2 separate regions of the Homo sapiens genome follow, and region 1 is linked to region 2. Evidence: promoter capture Hi-C in human tissues and cell types (Jung and others, 2019). All regions are on one chromosome and are shown on one strand. Each heading gives the region's core, a stretch centred on a gene start or on the middle of the fragment in contact. The rest is flanking DNA. Distances are from core to core; before and after follow the strand shown. Region 1 overlaps LRP4 (LDL receptor related protein 4). Region 2 holds the start of RAPSN (receptor associated protein of the synapse).

What was found. The method cuts DNA at HindIII sites, captures the fragments that hold promoters and counts their contacts. A contact is called where the count stands out against the background at its distance.
Region 1: a contact is called between a fragment that was not itself captured here and the fragment with the promoter of RAPSN in region 2, in 1 of the 25 tissues and cell types used here (lymphoblastoid cells).

The regions. Positions count from the first base shown.
Region 1 is chr11:46,902,678-46,909,013 of GRCh38, forward strand. It overlaps LRP4 (LDL receptor related protein 4), which reads right to left. Exons shown (of 38, transcript NM_002334.4): 2 at 106-252. Among named protein-coding and RNA genes, the nearest start is that of LRP4, 13 kb to the right of the region's middle. RefSeq lists enhancers at 3,252-4,086, 4,087-4,919. The HindIII fragment of the contact is 3,286 bases long and covers 1,721-5,006 here.
Region 2 is chr11:47,447,886-47,454,529 of GRCh38, forward strand. RAPSN (receptor associated protein of the synapse) reads right to left here and starts at 1,251. Exons shown (of 8, transcript NM_005055.5): 1 at 888-1,251; 2 at 1-265. The coding sequence starts at 1,079. The HindIII fragment of the contact is 7,804 bases long and covers 1-5,732 here.

The DNA of each region.
Region 1 (6,336 bases), core at 2,114-4,613, 540 kb before region 2:
GAGTCCGACACAGTTGATGCAGAAAATACTCCATCAGCCTTGTCCTTGCCCCCCACCCCCAGGTCCCTCTCCACCACCTCCCACTGCCTCTGGGGAGGTACTTACTACATCCATCCTCATCGCTGTGGTCCCCGCAGTCATTGTCTCCATCACACTGCCACTGGGCAGGGATGCAGGTACACTCTCCAAGAGCACTCACTGCACATGTGAAGTGGCTCCGACCACAAGCACACTCGGGGCTGCTGGCCAGGCCTGGGCGGAGGGAAAAGGAATCAGTGAGGGCTCAGCTCCCACTCAACCCAAGCCCATTCCGAGGGGAAAGTAGAGGAGCCTAGTCCAGGGGCACTGTCACCTGGAGAGTCACAGTGACACTTCAAGGGAGATGCAGGCAGTAAAACCATGCCTCCTCCAGGGCATAAACGACCCAGCAGATACCCTCTGACTTTGGGCTTACAAAGAGTCCAGGTGACCCGCTCTATGACAGGGCTTTTTTGCATGGCACCTCTAAGGGCCCAGAAACAGATGATGCCACCTAGGCTAGGCACAGTGGCTCATACCTATATCACAGCACTTTGAGGGGCTGAGATGGGAGGATTGATTGAGCTCAGAAGTTCAAGACCATCGTGGGCAACATAGTGAGACCTTGTTTCTACAAAAAACTAAAAAATTAGCTGAGGGTAGTGGCATGTGCCTGTAGTCCCAGCTACTTGGGAGGCTGAGGTGGGAGGATTGCTTGAACCTGGGAGGTCAAGGCTGCAGTGAGCTATGATCACACCACTGCACTCCAGCAGGTGCAACAGAGCAAGACCTTGTCTCAAAAAAGAAAAAAAGAAACAACCCCCTCCAAAAAAAAATGATGCCACTCAGAGGTTTGGTGCTTTTGAAGAAGAGGAACAAGGGACAGAAAGGGTGATGTTGAGAGGCCTCCATAGCCTTCTCACTAAAACTAGGTTGAGATATGGACGCTCTGCCTCTGTCTTGGACCAGACCCTGGGATGTTGGCCAGGGAGGGCAAGAACTAATGGTGGAATTAAAATGCTGGAGCCTCTTTAGGATAAGGAATCCACACAGGGGAGCAGGAAGCAGGGTGGGCTGCTCTGAGTCCCCCAGGCCACCTCAGGGCAGAGTAACTGGGACCTGCCAGGGCCTTCCTGTCTGTGGCACAGGCCACAGCCTTGAGGAAGGCTGGCAGATGCAGCCTCTCCCCCGGCTTCAGCAGCACGCAGCTGGGCTTCCCTATTGAGCATCGAGCTATCTGCCTGGCCAAGTCCCATGACCAGCTGCTGTGCCCCCTCCCCAGCGTGCCCAGCAGGATGCCCTGGGATGGCGTGTGAATGGCTCAGTGCCCTGCTCCAGCCTCAGCTGGAACAAAGGGTTCTGCCAGGGTCACTCTCCCCCCTCCCAGCATTCATCCAACCCGCTGGGCTGCTCTGCTCGCAGCTGGGGAAGGAGGGGGCCGCAGCGCATGGCTCATCTCTCCCCCTTCCTTTCTTCTCCTCTTCCTTCCCTCAGCTGGACCCTGCCCTCAGGCTGGGCTGAAACAGAGAAGGAGTCAGCTCGAAATTGTCACCCCTCTTCCTATACTCTGTACCTGGTCCAGCTTTTCTCTCTCAGCTCATCTCCTTGATGTACATCCTTGTCTCACATTATAATTCCTTGGCCTAGCCTAGGGCTTAGGGCCAGGATAAAAAGGTGTGCTGCCATGCCCTCCAAAAGCAGGGAGAGAGCTCTAGAACTTTCCCTCTCCATCTCAACCCCAAGAGTAAGTGCAAGCATAAGGTAAAACTTCCTAGCCTGCAATGCATGGATGGATGGATGGATGGACGGACAGACGGATGGATGGATGGATGGATGGATGGCTTTTGGGTTCTGTGAATCCCTGATGCTACAGGTATAATGTACGTTTCTGGGGTAAGGGATCACAGCTTTCACCAGATTCTCAACTGAGGCCTGGCCCTCTCCCTCCACATGCTATGGTAATCAGCTGCTCTAGAAAAGATGCAGGATTGGGCTGGGCACGGTGGCTCATGCCTGTAATATCAGCACTTTGAGAGACTGAGGCAGGTGGATCCTTTGAGCACAGCAGTTTTGAGACCAGCCCGGGGAACATGGCAAAACCCTGTCTCTACAGAAAAGAAATTTACAAAAGTTAGCCAGGCATGGTGGTGGACACCTGTACTCTCAGCTACTTGGGAGCATGATGTGGGAGAATCACTTGAGCCCGGGAGGTTGAGGCTGCAGTGAGCCATGATCTCACCACTGCACTCCAGCCATGGTGACAGGATGAGACCTTGTCTCAAAAAAAAAAAAAAAAAAAAAAAAAAAGATGCAGGATTTCCTGCGGAAGCCAAGTGAGGTCCAGTTGGGAGGTGCAGTGTCTCTAGACCTCACAGGAAGGCCTTGCTCCAAGCCCAGTGCTCCTGTCTCTTCGGGTCTCTCTACAAATGCAGGGTAGAGGATTCTTCCCCAGGAAGCACTAAAAGACCCAGGTGCCCCTGCCCCCACTCCATCCTTTCTGGCCTGAGAACTCTGAGAAGGGAGGAGGGTTTTTCTCACTCAGATCCTGGACAACACAGCCTGAGGAACTTCAGTAGTATGACAGGCTCAGCACAGCTGTAGGCACCCTTTTGGTGAACTCTAGCTGGATTGAACAGCAAAGATGTTTAATTCCACTCCATGTGATGGGACTCCCCGGTACACAGATCCCCTTCATGGGGTATCATGGTGAAGAAAAAGGATAAGGCTAATAAGGATCTCAACTGGGGATATTTTGTCCCCCGGAGGACATTTAGCAATGTTTGGAGACATTTTTGGTTGTCCTGCTTGGCGGTGCTTACCGACATCTGGTGGGTAGAAGCTAGGGATGCTGCTAAAGACTCTATAACGTGTATAATTCTATACAGGATTACACGCCTGTAATCCCAGCACTTTGGGAGGCCCAGGTGGGCGGATCACCTGAGGTCAGGAGTTCAAGACCAGCATGGCCAATGTGGTGAAACCCCCGTCTCTACTAAAAATACAAAAATGAGCCGGGTATGGTGGTGGGCACCTGTAATCCCAGCTACTTGGGAGGCTGAGGCAGGAGAATTGCTTGAACCCAGGAGGCAGAGGTTGCGGTGAGGGGAGATCATGCCATTGCACTCCAACCTGGGCAACAGGAGCGAAACTCCGTCTCAAAAAAAAAAAAAAAAATCTATAACATGCAGACAGGCCCCTATGACAAAGAATTATCTGGCCCAAAACATCAACAGAGGTTGAGAAATGCTGCTAACCACACACAGTAGGGAGTGGGGATGTACCAGACGGGAGTTCAGGATGAAAGCTGTGGAAAGGACAGAGAGGAAGTAGGGGGGAATAGGAGGAGGAGGTTAGGCAGAGGACAAAGCACTGGACCTGGAGCAGACAGACTTGGGTTCCATCGACCAGCCAGTTGACCTTGTGCAAGTCACGTAGCCCCTTAAGCTTCAGTTTTCTTGTTTGTAAAAAAGCCACAAGGGGCTGAACATGGTGGCTCATGCCTATAATCCTAGCACTTTGGGAGGCTGAGGCGGGCAGATCACTTGAGGTCAGGAGTTTGAGACCAGCCTGGCCAACATGGTGAAAACCTGTCTCTACTAAAAATACAAAAATTAGCTGGGCGTGGTGGCGCACGCCTGTAGTCCCAGCTACTTGGGAGGCTGAAGCAAAAGAATTGCTTGAACCATGGAGGCAGAGGTTGCAATGAGCAGAGATCACGCCACTGCACTGCAGCCTGGGCAACACAGCGAGACTCTGTCTCGAAAAAAAAAAAAAGCAACAAAGATTAGACAAGAAAATAAAGGTGGAAAAAACTAATCTTATGCCTTGGCACACCAAAGATGTTCAATAATGGAGGCTGGGGTGTGCAGATGCAGGGCTGTGCAGATGCAGGGCTGTGGAGGCTAAATTTTTCCAAAAGGCCTTGATATTAAGAATCAGAGTACCAGAATAGAGCAAGTAGAGCAGTGTCCTGGGGCTGCGTGCAAATGAAAAGTCATACTGGTAGGGAAGAACCTTAAGCTCCGTTTGTTTTTTTAGGGCCCCACCCCCGCCTTTGGCTGAGTGATAACAGAAGTCCCGATTTCCCCCGCGCAGACTGTAGGAACAAAGCATTCCATCGGTGGGCATCAAGTTAGTTGCAGGCAGTTGAAGGGCCTCGACTTCCTGCATGTCAAATCAACATCTCAGCGTCCGCTGCAGTGAAGGGCGGGCAGCCACCGGTCAGGCAAACGCTTGACTTGGGCATTCATACAGTAAACAGACACATTATACTCCAAAAAGCCAGCTCTTCTGGGCAACTGCTGTCCCTCTGGGGTCCTCAGAGGTGGAATTCTGCCTTTTCACTCAAGTCCTGGCTGTGATCATAAAGGCAGCTTTTAACCCTTTTTAAGGAAAAGAATGGTGAGTGAAGAAAGAAAACAAATGACTGTGGGTGGCAAAATGCAGCCTTCATTTTAAGAAGTGTTGAATTAGAACACTTCACTATGCTCTGGCCTTGAAAGCTGCCAGCCACATCGCAAGCTCCCTTAGCCTCCAGGGGCCTGGGCTCTAGCCCCTCCACCTAATGCAATTCACTATGGAAAAGGTCTGTCCGCAAGGTATCTTTGATCATGAAGCCATCCAGCTTTTGGGATATATGTTAATGTGCTCATAGGATGTTTCTCTAGAGGTTAACTAAAATCTTACCTTTTACATCTCATCTCTCCCACTCCCGCCATCTTACCACTTTCTCACGGCTTTCATATAAAGCAAGCTTGTCCAACCTGAGACTTGCATGGCCCAGGATGGCTTTGAATGTGGCCCAACACAAATTCGTAAACTTCCTTAAAACATGAGATTACTTGCGATTTCTTTTTTCTTAGCTCATCAGCTGTTGTTAATGTTCATGTATTTTATGTGTGGCCCAAGACAATCCTTCTTCCAGTGTAGCCCAGGGAAGCCAAAAGTCTGGACAGCCCTGATATAAAGGAAAGAAGGGAAACATCCATCTGGTATACAAGACACACTAACTTAGTAGTAGACAACATAGATTCTAAAGTCAGAGAGATGAAGGTTCAAATCTTGGTTCTACCACAAATTCCGCAATTTTGAGCAAGTTAGTTAATCCCTCCAGGCCTCAGTTTCCTCATCCATAAAATGGGAATATTAACAGTTCTAACTCAAAGGGCTTTGTAAAGATTAACCCATATAAACTGCTTAGCACAGGGCTAACACACAGCAAAAGCTTCATAATAATATAACCATCTTTTTTTTTTCCGAGATGGAATCTTGCTGTGTTGCCCAGGCTGGAGTGCAGTGGCGCGATCTCAGCTTACGGCAACCTCCGCCTCCCGAGAAGCAATTCTCCTGCCTCAGCCTCCTGAGTAGCTGGGATTACAGGCACCCATCACTGCACCTGGCCAATTTTTGTATTTTTAGTAGAGACGGGGATTCACCATGTTGGCCAGGGTGGTCTTAAATTCCTGACCTCATGATCCGCCCACCTCGGCCTCCCAAAGTGCTGGGATTACAGGCGTGAGCCACTGCGCCTGGCCCCATCATTTATTAAATACTTACCAGGTGCCCTCCGAGTACTTTTCTAAGTGCTTTTCATATGCTACATCACTGAAGGCTCTCAACAACCCTAGGAGGTGGTACTGTTATTATTAGTTTGATGCAAAAGCAATTGCGGTTTTTGCCATTACTTTTAATGACAAAAATTGCAATTACTTTTGCGCCAACCTAATATTATCACCACTTTACAGCTGGGGACAATGAACCACAGAAAGGTTAAGTCTGTAGATAGATTGCACAAGTACTAAGGGTTGAGGCCAGCATTCACACCCAGGCAGGTGATTATACTGCTTCCCAATAAATGGTATTACTGTTGTGAGAATCTCCAAAACCCCAAGGTCAAAAGGGGGAATTTACAACTTCTGGGTCCCTCTCTTTTATGTGTTCTCCAATAGCAAATATGCAGTGAGTTTATGGGTCTCAAACAGTGACCTCTTTCTGGTTACTGCTAAGGTAAAGAAAGATTCATTTCCCTCGCCGGAAGGTAAAGTAATGAAGTGGGGAAAGTCTGGCGTCCCAGCACTTTTGAATCAGCACTCGAGTGTTGTTGGTCCAGGGAACAGGGCTTCCCATAACAAATAATTATACTTTGCAATTTCTCTTTAGTTTGTGAGCTACTTTTGCATATGCACTTGCATTCTCATTGAATCATTACAATAATCCTGAGCAATGACTGCAGGGCCCATCCAACAGGTAAGGGCACCCGCTTTGGCCAAGGTCACAAGGTAAGTAGGAGAGCCAGGATGGCAGCCCCATTCTGACACT
Region 2 (6,644 bases), core at 1-2,500:
CATAGCGCAGGGCCTTCTCGAAGCTCTCCAGGGCCTTCTGGAAGACGCTGAGGCCCAGGAAGGCATTGCCCATGCTCAGGCTGACCTGGCCTCCGAGCTGGGCACCTGCCCTGGTACCAGGCAGCCCAAGGCAGGTCTTGCAGTAGGAGATGGTCTTGTGAAACTCGCACAGCTTCTCGTTGCTGCGTGCCAGGTTCAGGTAGCTCTCCAGGAGGAAGTCGGCATCCTCCAGCTCCCGGGCCGTGTCGATCTGGACCACAGCGAACTGCACACAGCGACGGTGGGCAGGTGGTGCTCAGCCTGGACTCTGAGCCTTGGACCCCAGCCTGCACTGCAGGCTCAGACCTGGAGGCCCCACACCCACCCCCCAGCCTCACACCCAAAGCAGCAGATCCCAAAGCTTCTTTTCAGACCCAGAGCTTCTACCCGCCAGCCTCAGCTACCTTCCCTACACCCCAGCCTCACCTCCCAAGCTCAGGCTTGCAGCCTTCACCTTCTATCCCAAGCCTCAGATCTGGAGTCTCCACCACCCACCCACCCCCAGCCGCAACCCTGGAGCCCACACCCCGCCAGGCTCAGACACAGAACACCAGACAGGAAGGCTGAAACCTACAATGGGCTTGAGACCCACAAACCCTCGACCCTGAGGCTGGAGAACCTCAGTCTCAGAGACTCGGGCACCACAGTTCAAGGCCACAGGCCTGAATCTGATGCCAAGACTCAGTATCTAAGACCCAGGGCCTTAGATATAAATTCAGAGCCTCGGGCCCTGGCTGCCAGCCTGTGGGACACAGGGGAGCCCGAGGAGGCCGAGAGGGGACTGGGGAGCCTGGGAGACATCCGGCCCCAGCCTGACCCTCGAACGCCCCCAGGCCGGGTACACCCACCTTCAGCATCTCCTTGTAGCGGCCCATCTCCGAGTGGGCTGTGACCAGGCAGCCCAGCACGCGGAAGCGCCCCATGAGGTCCGAGCTCTTCTCCAGCACCTTTGTCCACACCTGCAATGCCTTCTCTGTCTGGTTGGACTGGTACAGCTGGAGCCCCTTCTCGATCTGCTGCTTGGTCTGGTCCTGCCCCATCCTCCCCAAGCCCTGTGTCCCACGTGGGGTGATCCCTGGTGGCTCCGTGCCTCTAGGCACTCATGGGGCAGGAATCACAGTGCCAGCTGCCCCCCGAAACGTGGGAACAAAAGCAGCGTCGGGTGGGAGCCGGAATGGGGCCTGGATGGAGAGCAGGCGCCACCCTGGGAACAAAGCTGGTTCAGCCCGTCTGCAGCTGTCGCTGCCAGTTGGGGCCACATGGCCTCTGAGGAATGTCAGCAGCAAGGTCACGTGGGCCTCTGCTGCACCCACCCGCGAGCTGGGACGTGGCTTCCCTGAGCATACAGGCACCTTGCCACCTGGGCACCCCCTTGGGCGTCCCTTAGGCACCTCTGACACTGACCCTGACCGCCCTGGCAGCACGGGCCCTCCCAGCAGCCTTGCCAAGGGGCCAGCTCCAGCAAGTGGGCAGGCCTTGGGCTAGAGGTGCTCGGGGGAAGGAGAGCGAGGCTGGACCTGCAGGTCCGGGGAAGCCAGGTGAGCGCCCAGCCCTGCTTCTTCCCCATCAAGACACCCCTGACCGCAGCATCCCCTGGCTCTGTTCCTGAAATTCACTGAGCACCGTGGGTCACTCATCCAGGCCCAGGCTGACACCATTCACCAACTCTCACCTTAGAGAGTCTGGGAAAGACCTCCAGCTGGTGAGAGGCCTGAGCTCTAGCCTGGCTTCCTTCGAACTCTCAGTGGGACCCTAGCCAAGTGACCTGGCACCGTGGACTGAAGAGAGGAATGGTACCTGGCTCACTGGACTGCTATGAGAACTCAATGACGAAAGAGTTGAGAAGGACTTAGGACAGTGCCCGGCACAGGAAACCCCGCATGTGCTGCAAGAGGCTATTTTGCTCCATGGCAAATCCCCACCCGGGCCAGAACCCAGCCCTTGAAGTTTCAATGTCTCACTTCCAATCCCAACCCCGGGCTGAAAGGGTCCTCATAATGAGATTTAACACCAGATACTGTGGAGAAGGGCAAGGTCTTATGTAGTATTGGGGCCCCCGCTAGCAGGCCAGCTCATCCAGCCCCCCTTTCTCCTCTCTCTGCATGCCAGCCTTCTTCCTGCCCCAGGGCAAAAGTTTATCCTTTCTGGCTGGGCAATTCAGTGGTTTTTAGTATATTCACAGAGATGCACATTAATTGCCACTAATTCCAGAACATTTTAACCACCCCAAAAAGGAGACGCACACCCATCAGCAGTTACACCACTCCATTCCCCACCTTGATATGACTGAATCATGTCCCCCCGCAACCAAACGCATATGTTTAAGTCCTAACACTCAGTATCTCATAAGGTGACTGTCTTTGGAGACAGGGTCTTTAAAGGGTGATTAAGGTAAAATGAAGTCACATTGTACCTCATCCAGTTAAGACTGGTATCCCCCCCCCCTTTTTTTTGAGACAGGGTCTCACTCTGTCACCTAGGCTGGAGTGCAGTGGTGCAGTCACAGCTCACTGCAACCTCTACCTCCTAGGCTCAAGTGACCCTCCCACCTCAGTCTCCTGGGTAGCTGAGACCACAGCTGTCTAGTTTTTGTAGAGATGGGTTTCACCATGTTGCCCAGGCTGGTCTTGAACTCCTGGAGGTGGAGGTTTCAGTGAGCCGTGATTGTGCCACTGCACTCCAGCCTGAGCACCAGAGCAAGACCTTGTCTCAAAAAATAAATAAACAATAAATTTTTATTTTTAAAAATTATTTTTGAGACGGAGTTTTGCTCTTGTTGCATAGGCTGGAGTGCAGTGGCACAATCTCAGCTCACTGAGACTTCTACCTCCCGGGTTCAAGCAATTCTCCTGCCTCAGCCTCCCAAGTAGCTGGGATGACAGGTGTATGCCACCACGCCTGGCTAAGTTTTTGTATTTAGTAGAGACGGGGTTTCACCATGTTGGTCAGGCTGGTCTTGAACTTCTGACCTCAGTTGATCCACCTGCCTCAGAGCCTCCCGAAGTATTGGGGTTATAGGCGTGAGCCACCATGCCTGACCACAATACTTTTTTTTTTTTTTGAGACACTTTCCCTCTGTCACCCAGGCTGGAGTGTGGTGGTGCCATCTTGGCTCACTGCAACCTTCACCTCCCAGGTTCAAGTGATTCTCCTGCCTCAGCCTCCTGAGTAGCTGGGATTACAGCTGCGCACCACCACACCTGGCTAATTTTTGTATTTTTAGTAGAGACGGGGTTTCACCATGTTGGTCAGGCTGGTCTGGAACTCCTGACTTCATGATCTGCCCACCTCTGCCTCCCAAAGTGTTGGGATTACAGGCGTGAGCCCCCGCACCTGGCCCACAATAAATGTTTAAAAAGGACACAGTCACACAGAAGAAGAGCACGTGAAGACACAGGGAGAAGATGGCTATCTACAAGCCCAGGAGCAAGGCCTTAGAATGAAACCAACTCTGCCAATTCCTTGATCTTGGACTTCTAGCGTCCAGAACTGTGAGAAAATAAATTTCTGTTATTTAAGCCACCTGGTGTCTATGGACCTGTCTATTGTGGACCCTTCACAGGAATGGAATCATACAATATGTGGTCATCTGTGACTGGCTTCTTTAACTTGGCATAATGTTTTCAAGATTCAACTATGTTTTCAACCGTATCAGAACTTCATTACTTATTGTGGTTGGTTAATACTCATTGTCTGGATATACATTTTGTTGATTCAGCAGTTAATAGGCATTTGGGTTGTTTCATTTTTGGCTACTATGAATAATGATGCTATAAAAATTCATGTACAAATTGGGCTGGGCACGGTGGCTCACGCCTGTAATCCCAGCACACTAGGAGGCTGAAGCAGGCAGATCACTTGAGCCCAGGAGTTGGAGACCAGCTTGGGAAACATAGCGAGACCCCATATCTACAAAAAATACAAAAAAAAAAAAAAATTAGCTGGGTGTGGTGGTGCACAGCTGTGGTCCCAGCTACTCGCGAGGCTGAGGCAGGAGAATCGCTTGAGCCTACAAGCTTGGACTGCAGTGAGCCGCAATCATGTCACTACACTCCAGCCTGGGTGACAGAGCGAGACCCTGTTTCAAAAAAATAAAAAATTCATGTACTAGGTTTTATGGGGACATGTTTTCATTTCTCTTAGGTATATGCTTGGAGCAGAAGTGTGAGTAATATGGCAACTGTTACATTCTGGTACCTGCCTACCTGTCTGCCCCAGGGCCTTTGCACCTCCTAATTCCTTCTCTGTTCACCACACCCACACTCTGCCTCGTAAGTCATAATTAGGATGAATCAGCATATTATCCTCTCATTGAATTACACTGCATTCTGATACAGGACTTATCTCTATAATTTTATTTTGAGACAGGGTCTCACTTTGTCGCCCAGGCTGGAGTGCAGTGGTACAATCTAGGCTCACTGAGGCCTCGACCTCCTGGGCTCAAGCCACCCTCCCACCTCAACCCTCGCAAGTAGCTGGCATTACAGGCAATGCCACCATGCCCAGCTAATTTTTATATTTTTAGTAGAGACGGGGTTTCACCATGTTGGCCAGGCTGGTTTTGAACTCCTGTGCTCAAGTGATCCGCTGGCCTGGGCATCCCAAAGTGCTGGGATTACAGGCGTGAGCCACCACGCCCAGCCTCTCTATAATTTTATATTAGTGAGGTTGTTTGCTGAATGTCTTTATTCTTCACTCAAATGAGGTCATATGGCTGGGCCCTAACCCAGGGCAGGACTTTGTCTCCTTCATTACTGACTGTATTCCCAGAGCAAGGCCCGGCACACTGTGGCCCCTCAATAAATGTCAAATATCGGTGAATGGGGAAGAAGCGGAGGAAAGACGGCTTCACCGGGAAATTCAGAGCAACTACACGGCCTGCTTCCTGAGAGCCCAACGGGTCAGAGGGGACGCTCTGGGGGTCAGAAGGCAAATGCCCCAGGCTCAACAGAGGCAGAGTGGGAGCAGGCTCTGGGACAGGTGGCTGGGCAAGGCCACCTGGACTCCCCAAAGGAGTGCTCCTAAGCCTGGGAAAGGGAGGGAGAGCTGGCTGGGGTCTTCTCTCATCTCAGGGAGGCCTGGGTTGATGCTGAGCTGCAGATGGGAGGGAAGCTGGGCCCACAGCGAAGGTGTGAAGGGCCAGCAGATTCTCCCCACTCCAAGGCCCAGACACTATTCACATTGAGTCTCTGGCAGGAAGGAATGGAGGAAGGGCGGCCTGCATCTACACCCCAACAGAGTTGGGGACCACAGCCTTCCTCTTTCCTGGGGAACTCAAATGACCTCAAAACTTGAAAACTTGATGGGATCAAGCTGTCCTTTCCCTGAGACAGGTCTTTGCTCATCTGACTTCAGTGATGGGAATATGCCCATACTCGCTTATTCTAGGTAGCAGAGTACCTTATGTTTCCTTGAAACATTTCATTTCTTCTTTATTATTATTTTTTTTTTTGAGATGGAGTTTTTCACTCTTGTCGCCCAGGCTGGAGTGCCCGTGGTGGTGAGAGGTGAAGCCAGCTGGACTTCCTGGGTGGAGTGGTGACTAGGAGAACTTTTCTGTAGCTAACTAGAGGTTTGTAAAATGCACCAATCAGTGCTCTGTAAAAACACACCAATCGGTGCTCCGTAGCTAGCTGGAGATTTGTAAAATGGACCAATCAGCACCCTGTAAAATGGACCAATCAGTGCTCTGTAAAATGGGCCAATCAGCAGGACATGGGTGGAGACAAATAAAGGAATAAAAGCTGCCTCCCCGACCAGCCCATCCCCACCCCAACAAGCCAGCAGCAGAAACCCGCTTAGGTTCCGTTCCACGCTGTGGGAGCTTTGTTCTTTTGCTCTCCACAATAAATCTTGCTGTTGCTCACTCTTTGGGTCTGCACCACCTTTAATAGCTGTAACACTCACCACAGAGGTTTACGGCTTCATTCTTGAAGTCAGCGGGACCACGAACCCACTAGAAGGAACCAACTGCGGACACAGTGGGATCTCGGCTCACTGCAACCTCTGCCTCCTGGGTTCAAGCAATTCTCCTGCCTCAGCCTCCCAAGAAGCTGGAATTACAGGCGAGCACCACTACACCTGGCTAAGTTTTGCAGTTTTAGTAGAGACGGGGTTCCACCATGTTGGCCAGGCTGGTCTCGAACTTTTGGCCTTAAGTGATCTGCCCGCCTCAGCCTCCCGTGAGCCACCATGCCCGGCCTCAAAAATTTCATTTCTGAGCACGTTTTCCAGAAATCAGCGACTGTAGTTAGGTTAAGGGCATGCTCCTCTATGGCAACGACTGTGGTTTACTTGTCTTTGTACTACTAGTAACTAACGGCACGGCCCCTGGCAAGGTAAGAGGAGACCAACAGAGAATCCTATTTAACATTCTAACATTTTCTGAGTTAAGCATTTCTTCCAGTTTACAAATGAGGAAACAGGCATGGAGAGGTAAGGTGACCTGCCCAAGACTACACTGCCATCTGCTGGTCCTAGACAGCTGGGACCAGAAGCAGTGTGGTTGTAGAGTCTCGTTCTTTTTTTTTTTTTTTTTGAGATGGAATCTAGCTCTGTTGCCGAGGCTGGAGTGCAGTGGCGCAATCCTGGCTCACTGCAACCTC